Linked DNA regions of Homo sapiens: regions 1, 2, 3, 5 and 6 are each linked to region 4. Evidence: promoter capture Hi-C in human tissues and cell types (Jung and others, 2019). All regions are on one chromosome and are shown on one strand. The core of a region is centred on a gene start or on the middle of the fragment in contact, and the rest is flanking DNA. Distances in the headings are between cores, read along the strand shown. Region 1 overlaps CCDC30 (coiled-coil domain containing 30). Region 2 overlaps CCDC30 (coiled-coil domain containing 30). Region 3 overlaps HIVEP3 (HIVEP zinc finger 3). Region 4 holds the start of GUCA2B (guanylate cyclase activator 2B). Region 5 overlaps HIVEP3 (HIVEP zinc finger 3). Region 6 overlaps CCDC30 (coiled-coil domain containing 30).

Region 1 (2,700 bases), core at 54-2,553, 320 kb after region 4:
ACTGTTATGTCATGATTACTTGCAACCTAAAAAAATTGATATTGATAGCAGGCTTAGACCAAGAAGTTGCAGAAAAGAACTGAATTAATGAGAAGTCAACATAAATTATAAGACATATTCTGTGAGTAAAATAAATCCTGGATAGTATAGAATTAGGGGCCTCTCTAGCTTCCAGAGGAATCCTTTTATTTCTAAATATGCAATAAAAGGAACAAAGACTTCTTTGGACTTTAAAAAAGAAACAAGAGCCCTTTGGGAGACTTTTCAGATAAAAGTTGCAAACTTTAGAACAGACAGAAAAGCTTTTTTTTTTTCCATTGTACATAATTTTCATTAAGTATATCATGTCATTTGTTATTTTAGAAGATACACAGTTGTTCAAAGCTTACATTTTTCGGTATTACCAGCTGTTTCATTTAAGTGCTCATAACTAGATAACAACAGGAAAAGTAAAATATACATTGTAGAGAGTCTGACTCTAGTCATATATACATAGACTTCTTTATTCCTGCTTTCAGTTTTCCTCACATAGCAGCTTTGTATGTGTATTGCCAGCTATATTTTGTTCTTTAGAAATATCTTGGATTTTCCAAGATATATATACATACACATACATAAGTGTGATGAAGGTTCAGGTAGCTTACTAGCTTTCTATTGCTAGTACCCTAAAGACTAGTACTCTAATAAGGAGACTAAGGTGGCACCCACATAGATATCTTGCATCCTCAGTTGTGTGTGTGTGTGTGTTCATATACATATGCTTATTTCTTCTATCAAGGGAAAAGTTCAGTTAGAAGACATACTTCACCATCTTGAAAAAGAAGAAATCAATCCCCTTGCTACTACAGAAGAACAACTCTGTTTGGTGCTTATTCCAGCCAGCACAGTGAAGACAGGCTGAGGACTGCTACCACAGATGTAGAAGAGCTTATAGTGAAGCACATGGGTGAAACAAAAGAAGTGAGAACTAATAGCATAGAATTTTAAAGACACCTGTGATTTTGTTCATTGCCCTTCATTAAATTGACATATTAAAAACTAATGTTTGGCTATCACTGTATAGTTTGAAAAGCACCCACGTGTAGACCTTTTTTTTTTTCTAATGAAACATGGCAACAGTCTGTGTTGGTTTCCATTAAGACTCCATGTATAGGATGTTGCCCAGTGATGACTGGCTGAACATCTAAACAGGACTGCTCCAGGTAGCTTTCATTATCTTGGTAAAGTCATCCTTCTCTCAGGAGCTGACCTTCTAGGTGACTCTTTTTTTTGAAGGCTTGGAAACTAATGTCGGCATAGTATCAGTGGATCTGCTTCTCAAAGGTGGGCTTGTATTAACCAAAGTCATAGAGATGAGACACCTCCTTTTTAATTGACAATAAGAAATATAATTGCCAGAGGAACTAAACATGTATTTTTGGTGGCTGATGTATTCTCTTACAGGCACATTATGTGGGAAGCCAACTTTTAATTAGATGTTTACTTGGTGAACAAATGATTCTAACTTTTTATAGCATTGGCTGAGATAGCCAGGTTTCCACAATAGGGCTATCTATATCTACCCTCGTTTCTGGACCTCATATCCTAGGACCAGGCACCTAGTGCTTAGAGGAGTAGATAAAGCTATTTTTTTTTTGGCCCTATTGTTACTCTCTTGGATGTTTCCAATACTCATCAACATACTTTCTTTAAATGAACTAATGAATTATCTCAGGTTGCCTGGGAATCACTCTGCTATGTTTTCACATCTCAGCTTCACACAGGTAACATTTTTAAATTTAATTCTTAAAGGACAATCCAATCTCCAAATTCTAAAGAAGAATGCAGCTCCTTTAGAATGAAAAGCAGTATAGCATCATAGAGTGTGAACTTTAACATTAGGCAGATGGGGGTGAAAAGTTGCCTTTAGCATTATCTTTCTGTTTAACTCTGGGCAAGTTACTCAACTGCTTTGAGCTTGAAATTTCTGTCTGTAAGATAGAGATGTTAATAGCATCTTCAAAGGGATTTGTGAGATTTATACAGGTTAGTGTGTATAAATTACCCATGTACTTGGCACCTAGCAAGTGTTCAATAAATGATAGCTATTATCATTAGAAATGGATATTGTTCCTGCCATTTTAAAGAGGAAACGAAAGTTTGCCAGGAAGTGATAAAGTTGAACTGTGATTCCTATGTTCCTTCTATACTATTCATCTTTCTGTACATATTTTAAGGAGTTTTCCTATAGGCTTCCAAAGAATTCACCAAAATGCAATTCAGTTATTTCGGTAGTCTACTTCTAAGCACTTTGGCGTACTAAGAACTCAGTCTCTGGTTTCTACCCATCAGAGTATGAATTCTAGCTCCTCCCCTTATTCCCTATGTGACAAGGCAAGTCTCTTAGCCTCTCTAAGCCTGCTTCTTCACCTCCAAAGTGGGAGAATAATAGTCCCATGTGGTTGTGGAGACAATTAAATATTTGATGTACTTAATATAGTGCCTGGAGCATATTCGCTTTCTACCTGTTATTATGCACATAAAAGTAGCTTTTTGTGAAGCCGTTATATTAACTGCAAGCTTTTCAAAGAATACACAACAATTTTTAATGTAATCTCCTGTTAACATTTAATCATCTTAGCCATCAGTTTCAGCATAGCAGTATAAACCTAATTATTATGTAGATTTTTTTCTGTTCATGGATATCATGACCATATTTCC
Region 2 (2,700 bases), core at 141-2,640, 480 kb after region 4:
CTCAATGCCAGCCCATGAAACAGCCAGGAGGGAGGCTATACCCTGCAAAGCCACAGGGATGGAACTGCACAAGACCATGGAAACCCACTTTTTGCATCAGTGTGACCTGGATGTGAGACCTGGAGTCACAGGAGATCATTTTGGAGCTTTAAAATTGACTGCCTCACTGGATTTCAGACTTGCCTGGGCCCTGTAACCCCTTTGTTTTAGCTAATTTCTCCCATTTGGAATGCTGTAGTTACCCAATACCTGTACCCCCATTGTATCTAGAAAGTAACTAGCTTGCTTTTGATTTTACAGGCTCATAGGCAGAAGGGACTTGCCTTGTTTCCGATGACACTTTGAACTGTGGACTTTTGGGTTAATGCTGAAATGAATGAAGACTTTTGGGGACTGTTGGCAAAGCATGATTGGTTTTGAAATGTGAGGACATGAGATTTGGAGGGGCCGGGGCAGAATGATATGGTTTGGCTTTGTCCCCACCCAAATCTTATCTTGAATTTTGTCTCCCAAAATTCCCACATGTTGTGCAAGGGACCCAGGGGGAGGTAATTGAATCATGGGGGCCAGTCTTTCCTGTGCTATTCTCGTGATAGTGACTAAGTCTCATGAGATCTGATGGGTTTATCAGAGGTTGCTGCTTTTGCCTCTTCCCCATTTTCTCTTGCCACTGCCGTGTAAGAAGTGCTTTTCACCTCCCACCATGATTCTGAGGCCTCCCCAGCCATGTGGAACTGTAAGTCCAATTAAACCTCTTTTTGTTCCCAGTTTTGAGTATGTATTTATCAGCAGCTTGAAAGCAAACTAATACACTATCTTATAGCTAATTATTTTAACGTGATTACAACTTAATATGGTTTGCATAAACAAAGAAGGAAAAAGAAAACTAATACTCTATACCCTAACTTCATCCCTCCACTTTTAAACTTTTACTTGTTTCTGTTTATATCTTATTGTACTATGTCTTGAAAATTGTTGTAGTCATTATTTTTTATTGGTTTATTGTTTAGTCTTTCTACTTAAGAGTAGTTTACACACTACAGTTACAGTGTTATATTTTGTGGTTTTCTATGTATTTACTATTACCAGTGAGTCTTATACCTTCAGAAGATTTCTTATTAGTCATTAACGTCCTTTGCTTTCTGATTGAAGTACTCCCTTTAGCTTTTCTTGTAGGACAGAACCAGTGTTGATGAAATCCTTCAGCTTTGTTTGTCTGGGAAAGTATTTATTTCCCCTTCATGCTTGAAGGATATTTTCACTGGATATACTATTCTAGGGTAAAAGTTTTTTCCTTCAGCACTTTAAATATGTCATGCCACTCTCTCGTGGCCTGTAAGGTTTCCACTGAAAAGTCTGCTGCCAGACATATTGGAGTTCTATTATATGTAATTTGTTTCTTTTCTCTTGCTGCTTTTAGTATCTTTTATTTTTGACCTTTGGAAGTTTGATTATTAAATGTCTTGAGGTAATCTTTGGGTTAAATCTTCTTGTTGTTCTATAACCTTCTTGTACTTGGATATTGATATCTTTCTCTAGGTTTGGGAAGTTATCTGCTATTATCCCCTTGAATAAACTTCCTACTCCTATTTCTTTTTCTTTTTCTTTTCTTTTTTTTTTTGAGACGGAGTCTCACTCTGTCACCCAGGCTGGAGTGCAGTGGCACGATCTCGGCTCACTGCAACCTCTGCCTCCCGGGTTCAAGCAATTCTTCTGCCTCAGCCTCCCAAGTGTGTGCCACCACACCCAGCTAATTTTTGTATTTTTAGTAGACATGGGGTTTCACCATATTGGCCCGGCTGGTCTTGAACTCCTGACCTCGTGATCCGTCGGCCTCAGCCTCCCAAAGTGCTGGGATTACGGGCGTGAGCCGCTGCATGGGCCCCTGTGTCTTTTCCTACACGCTCTTTAAGGCCAATAACTCTTAGATATGTCCCCCTATTTTTTTTTTTTTTTTTTTTTTTGAGATGAAGTCTGGCTCTGTTGCCCATGCTGGAGTGCAGTGCCGCAATCTCAGCTAACTGCAACCTCTAGCTCCCGGGTTCAAGCGATTCTCCTGCCTCAGCCTCCCAAGTAGCTGGAATTACAGGCATGTACCACTACACCCAGCTAATTTTTGTATTTTTAGTAGAGATGGGGTTTCACCATGTTGGCCAGGCTGGTTGTGAATGCCTGACTTCAGGTGATCTGCCCACTTTGGCCTCCGAAAGTGTTGGGATTACAGGCGTGAGCCACTGTTCCTGGCTAGATTTGCCCTTTTGAGGCTATTTTCCAAATCCTGTAGGTGTGCTTCATTCTTTTTTATTCCTTTTGTCTTTTGTCTCCTCTGCTTTTGTATTTACTTTTCTTTTTCTTTTTTTCTTTTTTTTTTTCAGATGGAGTCTCGCTCTGTTGCCCAGGTTGGAGTGCAATGGCATGAACTCAGCTCACTGCAACCTCTGCCTCCCAGGTTCAAGCAATTATCCTACCTCGACCTCCTGAGTAGCTGGAATTATAGGTGCGTGCCACCACACCTAGCTATTTTTGTATTTTTAGTAGAGACAGGGTTTTGCCATGTTGGCCAGGCTGTTCTCGAACTCCTGACCTCAGGTGACCTGCCTGCCTTGGCCTCCCCAAGTACTGGGATTACAGGCGTGAGCCACCGCACCTGGCCCTGTGTATTTTCAAATAGTCTATCTTCAAGTTTACTAATTCTTCTGC
Region 3 (2,700 bases), core at 4-2,503, 490 kb before region 4:
TTCTGACAAAGCCCCAAAGGGAAGGACCACACTTCCTGATCTGGCATGCAAGGCCCCACGGACCAGCTGCATCTCCCAGAGCTCAGCCCATCCTGCCATTTGCCCAGCCACCACCCCCAACACGCACCACTTTGCACCAGTTTCCACTTCTTGAGGTCTTCATACAGGCTTTCCCTTTGAAATGTCTTCTCCACCCCCTCCAGCTGTCCTTCACACCCTGAATCCAAGCCTGCCCTTGATACAGGTCCTTCTCTTGAGCAGGGCAACTGGGGTGGGGTGCCCCCTGGGACAGATTCCTGCTCCTCACTCCACTCCTGCCCTGCCCCCACTGTCCTGCTTCCCGTTTTCTGTCTGAAAGCAACTCCAGGCAGAGGAGGTGGGTGCCTTGTTATAATTCATATGCCCTGAGGGGTGACTTTCTATCATTCACACACACAGGCTCAGATGACAGCCTTGCTCCTGCCCCAAGTTGAATGACATCCTCCTCCCCTTTGAGAGGTGGCCTGGCCTCAAGGGACCCTCCCAATGGATTTGGTCACCTTCCATGATGCCACAGGCAACTCAATAGTTCCTGCCTCTACAGACTTGCCCATCACCTCACATTGAAGTCAGTTATTGGGGGCCTCCTCTTCCTCAGACTGGGAGCTTCAGGGAACTTTCCATCTTGATCCCTCTCCCCTCCCAGGACTGATAAGTTTACAAATGTTTGTTAAGTGAATGAATGGTCCTGAGGGGCAAATCCTAAGACAAACTAACCAGAGGACGGGGGAGAATTTACCCAACCCAGAACAGTGGCTGATGTCCTAGGGTCCCTGGCTGGGGGCTGGGATGAAAGGCGGGGTTCTCAGCTAGACTGGCTTGAATGCTCAGGAGACTGGGATGGCTTGGGATTTGTCTCCTCCTTTCTCTTGACAAACTCCTCTGCAGCCATCAGGGAGCCTGGGATATCCCCATGCCAACCCCCCAAAACACGGAGTCCTGAGCTGGCCCTAATGAGGTGGAGGGGAAGGATGAAGGAAAATGCAATTTGTCAAGCCCTTTCATTGTACCAGACACAGTCAGACTGGATGCCCCTGAGCCTTCCAAGCCATGCAGGCCTTTCCAGCGGTAGTCATTCCCCAGGCCAGGAGTGTCAGCTGGGGAGCCCTCACCTAGCTCCTCCCACAACCATCTGTCCCCACTTCAAGACTCAGCCCCCACCTCAGTTCTGGTGCCAATTCTCACTGGAAGCCAGAAGGTCTTCAGGACTCCAGCCTCAGAGCTCAGAGAAAGAAGGTGGGGGCAGACAGCCCTGCTTCGAGGCTACCAGCCTGACCTCGACTCTACTCTGTGAGCCCCCACCTGCAGACCAGGCCTCCACCAGTCTGCAGAAAGGCAGAGTTGAGGTGCAGGACACCTTTCCCACCATGTATCTGAAAGGCAGGTGGTACCAGGTGCCAGTTCCTTCCTATCAGCCCCATCCCCTGCAAGTAACTGGGCCAGGTCTTGAGAAAGTCCCAGTACTTGGCCCTGGGGGCCTTCCCACATTCCTGCATTCCTCAAACATGAATCAGGCACCATTTCTGTGTTGGGAACATGTAATACACAAGCCTGTGTTCATGGATGGAGACTGACAGGTAAACAGATATCCCATTGCTAAATGTTACACTGCTGTTTGACAAGGTTGGAGAGGGGTGGAGTAGGGGCATACAAGATGGAAAGATAAGATTCATTCTACTTCTGGAGCTACAATTCAAGAAAACTGTGATCCAGGTGTCCCGGGCTAGAATGCTGAATGCTTGTTTCCACGGAAATGTTATACACACACACACACACACACACACACACACACAGTCTGGATCTGCTGTAAAGCCAGCATCACACTGTAGAGACTTTACAAGCTAAAAGAGATTAGAGCAGAGGGCAGGTTTGGCATCTGATCTGCCATCTAGAAAGCTATCTCTATGGAATTTTGTTTCCAGCTTATAACAACAAAATTAGACACAATTTTGGAACCCACTGTTGCTCCCAAGGAGCTAGGGACCAGCACAGTGTGTTGGGAGCACTTTTAAGGTGGGGTGGGGCTGAGCAACCAGGCCCTGTGGGCCTTCTGGGTTATTTATGTTTAGGTCTTACACTGACTTAGCAACCATCCCCTCTCCATCCTCCATCCCCATTGCTGTGCTTTCCTGGACTCAGATGCTTTGGTTGTTTTCCTGTTTGGGGTGTGTGTGCGTGTGTGTGTGTGTGTGTGTATGTGTGTGTGTGTGCATGTGCACATGTATGGTAGGTGCTCTCTTCATAGACCTGTTGCACACATGAAGCTTCTGTCCTGGGACAGAGACTAGAGTTTGCATTTTATGGATATCACCTTCCTGAGGTCCAGTCCTCCAGACTCAGTTCCCATCCTTTCTCTCCAGCCTGAGAACTGTGTTTCCAGCTTCCTGACTTAACTTGATGCTGTGGATAACAGCATGGGCCTTGGAGCCACATAGACCTGGGTTCAGGCTCCAGCCCCACATTTACTGTGTCACCTTGGGCATGTTACTTGATGTCACTGATCTTGACGTTCTCATCTCCAAGGGCTGCTGGGAAGTTTTGACAAGACACTGCAATAGAACTCTTCAGTGTACAAAATAGTAGGTGCTCAATAAACAGTAGCATTGATTACTGTCCTCCCATATGGTGACTCAGAATCCTCCTCCTCTCATACTGCTCATC
Region 4 (2,700 bases), core at 196-2,695:
TTATTCCCAGATGGTTGTTTTCATTTTACAGATTAGAGGGCATGTAAGATTCCCTTCATTTCCATAGACTCTAAAGAGCAAAGGCTGAAGTCTGGATTCAAAGCAATACATAAGAAATTCCAAAGTTCACTTGAGCTTCTTCTTCATTTCAGTCTGAGATAAGAAAAAGGAAGATGGCATTTCAGGCAGGTGGAATGAGTAGGCAAAGACATGAGATGGGATTAGACCTGTGCAAATAGGGTTGGTATGGGGAAGCACGATGACATCAGATTTTAGCCACTTTTGGGAGTGGCATCTTAAATGCCAAGGTGAGCTATCAGGGCTTCAATCCAACGTTCAGGCTCAATGTCAGGGGAGCCTGCCACATGCCAGAGTCTGTGCCTGGCAGAGCTGAGCCCTGGCACACGCACTGTTTACAGCTGCCTGGTATGGCAGTGGTGATATCACCCTTAGAGACTTTGCCCTCTTCTCTCTGACCCAACCTTCAACCACTGGGGCAGTAGGTTATGCATTGCCTAGAAGGCAACTGTAAGATTCAGGGGCTGCTATGGATGCATTACCCAGGAGATAAGGGCAACCTCAGGTGGGCCGGGGCCCTCACAGCAACCTTACGAGAGGGGTTGTATCATGCCCATTTGATGGAAGAGAAAACTAAGATTCCATTAGAATTGATGTGACGTATCCTAAATCACACAGCTGCAGCAGGACTAGGATTTGAATGCGGGTCAATCTGCCTCCAACACTACTGCCTTTTCCTCCATGCTGGATTAGGCTATTGGCTTCTGAAAGCACAGACAGGTGAGATGGGTCAAACATGGCCTGAAGCACCCAGGCACAGGTGGGAGATGGCAAGCAGAGGCAGGTTCAAAACGTGGGGCCAGGACTGGTCTGAAAGATAGTCGTTAAATAGCACTGAGGAGAGGGAGTGAGAGAGATGTGGGTCTTGGGGGAGTGGGGTCTTGAGAACCCTGAAATCAGCAGTGTCTGCCCACTTTGCCCTGGACCAGCCTCTCTGTCTGTATCCTTCCCCCAGAGAAAGGACCATGGGCTGACCTGGGCCAAGGACACCTGGCTGGAGCCCCTTCTCTGACATTAACTAGCTCCGTGACCTGGGGAAAGCCACCCTCCCTCCTGAGCCTCACTTTTCCTGTCTGTAAAATGGCCTCCCCGTCATCACACCCACACAGGTGTCTTGAGGAGTGAATGATGGTGTGCTCCAAGGCCCCCATGGAGAGCCCGGCACATGGCAGGCACTCGGTGTTCAAGCACTGTGTTCCCATAGACTCTGGGCTCCTGCCCTCCTCGCCCCCAACCCCCTTCCTAGGAACCAGCCCCGGCTTGTCAGAGAGCCAGCTAGCTGTCAACCCCACCCCAGCTGGCCAGTTAATGAGTGACCAGGACTCCTGAGCCTGACCTATAAGGAGGTGCTAGGCAGGGACACAGATGGGAGACGGTGGACAGCGGCAGGGGGAACCCAGGGAGCGCGATGGGCTGCAGGGCTGCATCAGGGCTCCTGCCAGGAGTGGCCGTGGTCCTCCTGCTGCTGCTGCAGAGCACACAGTCAGTCTACATCCAGGTGAGTCCCTTGGCCAGCGTTCCCTTTGCCTGAAGGGCCCCATGGTGGGAGGCTAGGCTGGAGAGGGTGTACTGGGAATTCAGAGGGGCACCGGGGGAGCACGGGGCCCGGGGCTCAGCCCAACACCCATCACAGCCCAGAGACCAAGGCAGCTGGTGGGTGGGGGCAGCCAGATGTTGATGGCAGTGATGATGGCAATGACAACACCAAACTGATTCAGCGCTGCTCCCCTCAAAGGCCCGTGCTGGTCACAGAGGTCAGGGTGTGGAACAGAAGGCTCCTCCTTGCATGGGAGGAGGCCAGAAAGGGAAGGAGACACCCTGTTATGCTCCCACAGTTCCGTATATTCACCCACATGTAGGTGGAGGAGGACAGGCTCCAGAAAAATTTTCCTGAGAAGTAACCCTTGAGCTGGCATTGCAAGATGAACAGGAGGTTGCCAGACACAGATGATGGGGAAACTGTTCCAGGCCAAGGGGCACAGCATGTGCAAAGACCAGATAGAAGACTATGGGGGTTCCAGTGCCCTTCCAGGGGGCATGGGAGAGTGGCAGTAGTCGTCACAGCAGGGCCTGTCTGCCACGTCACAGGGGATGCTGCTGGCCTCGCCCAGCATAGCAGAGACGTCTGTGGCCCTGGGTGTCACATCCCTGACTCTGGGCATGGTCTCCTTGGGAAGAACAAAGTGGGTCCCAGAGAGGGGTGCAGGAGACTTGGCCTCCCCAACAGCCCTGGCCTCAGAGACCAGCTACTTGGGGCTGCCATCACTCTGCCATGTGAGCTCAGGCAGGCGTACTCAGTTAGTGATTGTGCCCTGGTACCAGGCCCCCACGGGAGATGTCAGATGAGGGAACTGAGGCTGAGTGGGGAACAGACAGGCAGCCGGTCATGGGCAGAGGTGGGATTTGAACCAGGGCTTGTCTGTCTCTAAAGCCTCGAACCACTGTGCTCCACAGCCCCGCTGCTTCTTCCTCACACCTCTCACCGCAGCGGCTCTTTCCAGTGTGGCCCTGGACTTCCCATAGAGACGGGGAAGGCTCTGGAGGATCTGCAGGGTTTGAGCAACCCTGGGTGTCATGGCAGTGCCTGCCCCTGGACCAGGTCTTGACCTGCTCCTATCTCCT
Region 5 (2,700 bases), core at 82-2,581, 290 kb before region 4:
TGGCTAATTTTCCTGTGGGCACACCTTAAGCACACAAACCTGAAAGCAGCAGAGCAGCGAAACTGGCAGCCAAAATAAAGCAAAAAGAAGAACATCTTCCAGGAGGGAGGTGGAATCAGATTGAGGCAAAGCCAGGACTAGGTTCTTGGCAACGTGATTAAAATCCCGAACTACGAGGGAGGAGAGGCCTTGCTGCCAGCCCCTCAGCACACTCGAGCCAGGGCACTGGAGGTGGGTGGTGGTTAAAAGCTGTGTGCCATTCACAGCCTATAGCACTGCCTGTGTCCGTCAGTATGGGCAGAATGGCTAATGACTCCAAATAAAACTCCTACACCATGCTCCATCTGGGGACCATGTTATAGCTGAATACACAAAGTCACTTTGTAGCTTGCCCGATAAGTCCACTTTAATTCCTCCAAAATAATTCATGGAGGCCTGTGAGCACACTGCACCAGGCCAAGCACTAGGGTTATAAAAAAGAAATGAAAAAAGAAAAACCTAGTTGCTCTACTCTAAGGGCTTATGATTTAACCAAGGAGATGAGATTCACAATGGTAGCTGGCAATACGGTAAATCAAGGCACAAAGAATCCAGGAGTGTGTTCTGCTAGAGGCCCAAGAGGGCAGCTGGCATTTTCAGGAGGATGCAGGTCAGCCTTTATGGGAAAATGGATTGAGTTTACCTTGAAGGGTGGGGAAATTTTAGGCAGGTGGCTAAGAAGTGAGCTGGCCTCTGGGGATGTGGGGAGACTGTGAGCGCCGCATGAGACAGGCTCTGCATCCTGCACATGCTGCCTGCATTTCCAGCCCTGGGAGGAGGATTTGTGCAAGGGAGGCAGAGATGAGAGCGTTGATAGGAAGGAAGGAGGCCAGATTTCAGAGAGGTCTGAATCCCACACAGAGAAGCTTGGGCTTTCTCCAATAAGCTGCAGGGAGCAGTTGGAGACTTGTGAACAGCAGATTAACATAATTAAATAAAAACTTCAAGACTTTAGCTTTTTGTGGGGATGCAGACTAGACGAGAGGTGATGAGAACATTAGAAAGCTTTTACAGTGTAGACCAGGCTGGCCACGGTGTTGGCAACGGGAGAGAAAGAAATAGATCTGGAAGATACCACAAAGCAAATATCTAAAGGGCTTGGAAACAAATTTGGCCGGGGGGCGGATGAAGGATGAGTCAGGGGCAGTTCTGAATTTTAAAACTTGGGGGATGTGAGGTGGAGGTGGCATCGTCAGACATAAAGACACAGGTTCGAGCAGCTTTACAAGAACTTAAAAAGGCCAGACCACCCAAAGGTGGCACTGACTGGAAGCACGAGGCTACGGACAATGCTTCCTCATTTCAAAGGGGAGTTAACAAGTTAAGTGAAGTTTTATCCACCAATGAAATGGCTGTCTGTCCAAACAAATAAGCAACAAGTGTGGGCTCTGCACTCCTCTCCACCTCTCTTGCTCCTTCCGTTGATGCTCCCCTAACATTTATCTGACCATAAGCTAAGAGCAGTCATGAGAACAAGATAGAAATCCTCAGAAATCCAGAACTCTAATCCTTCCTTCTGCTGAAATACTGTAGGGCTTAGTTATTTTCACACTTATGCATATGCTTCAGTGTGTAAGAACTGAGTCATTGTTTTCTTTTCTCCTCCCCTCTCCCCTCTCTTTCCCTCCTCTTTGCCACCCAGCACCTCCTCTGCCTCCACCCCCAAGCCACTGCAAACATCCTGGCATGCATCTCTCCCCATCCATTTCTGCATGGCTGTCAACATTTCCCATTCCCTCCAAGCTTGCCTCCTGCCTCCTATTTCTTTAGACACACTGGGAGTCTAAGAAATGAACTACAGATTCAACAGGACTGTGGACCACAGATCTTGACAAAGACAGGCAGCTTGTTGTGAAAAGAGAATTGGAGGGCAGGTCAGAGACTTAGGTTTTAGGAGTCAGGCAAGGGAATCAGATAAAGATCCCTGAAAACAAGGGATATCATCACTGCCCAGCTTTACTGACGTAGAGACAAGTTTTCTCACTTGGCAGATATAGACGGAAGATAAGCAGGTTCCCTTTCAGATGGTAACCCCAAGTGCAGTGGCTCACAGCTGCAGTTATTCTGAATGGCAGCGGGAGGGAAGGAAACAATGAATGCACACACACACAAGAGCAATGCTTAAGGTGAAATGGACTTGAACAGTCTCAAATGCACACCTCCTCCAGTTCCTGGAAGGCAAGGATGAGTCAAACAGAAGTTGAATTTCACAGGCGTTCCTCCTCCACTGTCACATACGTTCCCAGACGCAGAGTCATCTGTGCACATGTCACCCAGCATCGACTGCTACCAGCAACTGCCTCCTGGGAAGTTAAGCTGCAGGGTCAGATCTGCTTCTGCTGGGGAGCTGAAAGTAAACTGCGTAAGGTGGGGGTGATCCCAGTAATGTGAGGGCAGGAAAAAGCAGAGAACGCTGGAAAAGGATGGCAGGAATTAACATGGCTCTGAAGAGAGGAGCCAAGGATCACCTGATCTGTAGAGCCTGGAATCTGCAGTTATTTCTAGTTTCCTAGACAACCCTGACTAAACTAGGAAGACATCTGAACTCCGGCTCAAAAATAATATAGGTTCTTGGAATGGGACAAAAGAAGAAAGGAAAGGGGAGGTGATACCATGTGCCAGTTCAGGGAGTGGGGACCAGACCTTCAGAGAAAGGAAGGT
Region 6 (2,700 bases), core at 187-2,686, 440 kb after region 4:
AATACCAGGGGTTTGGTCTAGGTCCCATTGCTTAGTGCACAGAAAGCCAATTACTGAGACAATGAGTATTGCCAGGGAAAAAGGCTTTATTAGGGTGCCGCAGTTGAGGAGAATGGGAGATCAGTCTCAAATCTATCTCCCTGACCAACTAAAATTTGGGGGGTTATAGCAGGGAAGGAATGTAAAACAGGAATTAGTGAGGGGTAAGGAACCAATCATGAGGAATGAGGCATCTCATTTTCTGTATGCTACGATCTGGTGAATTTTAGTTTCTTGCCTGAGGGTCAGTCTCCTGAGGGAGGAACTCAGATATAAATTTCAAGTTTTAAGACTGGGAGGGTACATTTCTACATTTGTTTAAAAAACTGTAAGTGTAATTTCTGTGGGACAGTTGGGCTGGTTTCATGATGAGACTGAAAGAGTGCTAATGGCCCTTGTAGGGGTGGAGGGAAAATTTCCCCTCCCCTTCTGAAGGTTTTCTGAAAAGTCAACTGACAAAAGACAGATTAATAGGAGAAAAAGCAAACACAATTTTATTAACGTGGGGTGGGGAAAATCAAGTGTGATGACCCAGTGTCTAAGTGTGTTGCAGAAGCTTATATACCCATTTCCAGGGGAGAGGGAGATGAGGAATGTAGAGAATTCCAAGGGACAGTAACTCATTAGGGAGAGTGAAGGGACCCTGGAGACAAAAATTAATTCATAAATTATTTACCTGGGAATTTGAATGAGTTTAAGAGATAGCCATTGTCTTGTGAAAAGGTCTGTGGAGGTGTTGTTATATTCCTCAATCTTCTTTTCTGAAGATCCATAAATAATGCAGTTTCAGGGAGGGGATGGGTATAATTGTTCTCCTTGGTAAGTCCAGTCTTCACGCAGATAAGAGAAAAGCCTCTTCTAGCATCTGCTGATCTCTAAGGGCCTTTCATTCAAAATATTTAGTATACCAGGATACCATATTTGAGGTAAAATTCTGTGAGTTCCTTTACCCTCTTTTGGAAAATGGTAAATTTTCTCATAAAATGCAGGCTCATTTATGATTCATTTATAGCAGTGTTAATGTGTGCTTATTATTATCAATAGTGCTTGTAACTAACATTACCTTGAACCCAGAAGATGAAGGGCTCAACTCGTAAAGCAGTAAGGAAGAAAGAATATGGGATTCAGGATTCGAGCCCTACCTCCACTTTGTCTTAACTGTTCTCTCTACCACAACTTCCTCATCTCTGAAATAAGGACAACTACTTTTTCCTCATAGGGTCATTTTGATGAGTGAGTGAGAGAAGTAAGGAAAGCTTCTATCACAAAAGAGGTTCCCTGTGTTGGTCCCTTTAGCTTATAGACACATACCCTACTTCATTGAACCAAAAAAAAAAAAAATCCCTTGTGATGCCATAAAAATTTTAGGTCTGAATTTCATTTGCAATTCATGGTGTGATTTAATCTACATTAATTGCCCTCAGGAAACTTCTATATCAGAACGTAGATGAGTTACACAGGCAAGTGAGAACCTTACAAGATAAAGAAAATCTACTGGAAATGACCTGTTCTCAGCAACAATCCAGAATTCAGCAACAAGAGGCCCTACTTAAACAACTGGAAAATGAAAAAAGAAAATATGATGAGGTAAGAAAGTAAATAGACATGCTTCTCAGTTTTCCTATTCCCATTAGTAACAGCTAATTATTATTGAGTGCCTAGCACTTTACTAAACCTAATCCTTTAGTCAGGGTTCAGTCAGGAAAGTAGAATCTACTCTAGGTATTTCAAGCAAGAAGAGATTTAACACAGGGAATAAGAGCTTACAAAACAGTTGGAAGGGACCAGGGGAGAGTAGAGTCAGAAAGGACTGCTGCTAGCTTTCAATAAATCCAGAAGTTCAGAAATCACAGAGAAGCCACCTCCTGCAGCGTCAAAGTGGAGAATTTGCAGGAACTGTCCTGAAGCTCCTACAAATGTCTCATCTGTTGTCTGCCCTTTTATCCATCTGCTAGTGCTAAAGAACTGTTGGGGGGAAAGACAAACAAACCTGTTTCTTCTTTCTATACTCGTACCACTCTGAATACTTCACTTCTGATATAGTTTGGATGATTCTCCTCTCCAAATCTCTTGCTGAAATGTAATCCCCATCATTGGAGGTGGGGCTTAACAGGAGGTGGTTTTGTCATGGGGGTGGGTCCCTCATAAATGGCTTGATGCTGTCCTCACGATAATGAATTATTGCGAGATCTAGATGTTTAAAAGTGTGTGGCACCTCTCCGCTCTCTCTTGCTCCCACTATCACCGTGTGACATGTCTGCTCCCATTTCACCTACCACCATGATTGTTAGCTTCCTGAGTCCCTCACCAGAAGCTGACCAGATGCCGATACCATGCTTCCTGTATAGTCTGCATATCTGTAAGCCAATTAAACTTCTTTTCTTTATAAATTACCCAGTCTCGGGTATTTCTTTATAGCAGTGCAAGAACAGCTTGACACAGAAAATTGGTACCAAGAAGCGGAGCGTTACTAAAAAAGATACCTGAAAATGTGGAAGCAAGTTTGGAACTGGGTAACAGGCAGAGATTGGAAGAGTTTGGAGGGCTCAGAAGAAGGCAGGAGGACCAGGAGCAGTGGCTCACAACTGTAATCCCAGCGCTTGAGAGGCTGAGGTAGGAGGATTGCTTGAGGCCAGGAGTTCAAGACCAGCCTGGGCAACA

The links. The method cuts DNA at HindIII sites, captures the fragments that hold promoters and counts their contacts. A contact is called where the count stands out against the background at its distance.
Region 1: a contact is called between a fragment that was not itself captured here and the fragment with the promoter of GUCA2B in region 4, in 2 of the 25 tissues and cell types used here (bladder and heart right ventricle).
Region 2: a contact is called between a fragment that was not itself captured here and the fragment with the promoter of GUCA2B in region 4, in 1 of the 25 tissues and cell types used here (hippocampus).
Region 3: a fragment that was not itself captured here is called in contact with the fragment with the promoter of GUCA2B in region 4 in 1 of the 25 tissues and cell types used here (dorsolateral prefrontal cortex).
Region 5: a contact is called between a fragment that was not itself captured here and the fragment with the promoter of GUCA2B in region 4, in 2 of the 25 tissues and cell types used here (hippocampus and pancreas).
Region 6: a contact is called between a fragment that was not itself captured here and the fragment with the promoter of GUCA2B in region 4, in 1 of the 25 tissues and cell types used here (aorta).

Annotation. Positions count from the first base shown.
Region 1 is chr1:42,472,344-42,475,043 of GRCh38, forward strand. The region is part of intron 1 of CCDC30 (coiled-coil domain containing 30); the gene reads left to right. It also overlaps a transcript of PPCS not described here. Among named protein-coding and RNA genes, the nearest start is that of CCDC30, 10 kb to the left of the region's middle. The HindIII fragment of the contact is 4,715 bases long and covers 1-2,700 here.
Region 2 is chr1:42,628,029-42,630,728 of GRCh38, forward strand. All of the region lies in intron 15 of CCDC30 (coiled-coil domain containing 30), which reads left to right. All of the region lies in intron 1 of LOC124904162 (a long non-coding RNA gene), which reads right to left. Among named protein-coding and RNA genes, the nearest start is that of PPIH, 29 kb to the right of the region's middle. The HindIII fragment of the contact is 3,401 bases long and covers 1-2,700 here.
Region 3 is chr1:41,663,909-41,666,608 of GRCh38, forward strand. The region is part of intron 2 of HIVEP3 (HIVEP zinc finger 3); the gene reads right to left. Among named protein-coding and RNA genes, the nearest start is that of EDN2, 180 kb to the left of the region's middle. The HindIII fragment of the contact is 4,895 bases long and covers 1-2,700 here.
Region 4 is chr1:42,151,965-42,154,664 of GRCh38, forward strand. GUCA2B (guanylate cyclase activator 2B) reads left to right here and starts at 1,446. Exons shown (of 3, transcript NM_007102.3): 1 at 1,446-1,576. The coding sequence starts at 1,487. The HindIII fragment of the contact is 15,047 bases long and covers 1-2,700 here.
Region 5 is chr1:41,860,838-41,863,537 of GRCh38, forward strand. The region is part of intron 1 of HIVEP3 (HIVEP zinc finger 3); the gene reads right to left. Among named protein-coding and RNA genes, the nearest start is that of HIVEP3, 57 kb to the right of the region's middle. The HindIII fragment of the contact is 5,281 bases long and covers 1-2,700 here.
Region 6 is chr1:42,587,858-42,590,557 of GRCh38, forward strand. CCDC30 (coiled-coil domain containing 30) reads left to right here. Exons shown (of 21, transcript NM_001395517.1): 14 at 1,464-1,626. The region is part of intron 1 of LOC124904162 (a long non-coding RNA gene); the gene reads right to left. Among named protein-coding and RNA genes, the nearest start is that of PPIH, 69 kb to the right of the region's middle. The HindIII fragment of the contact is 4,504 bases long and covers 1-2,700 here.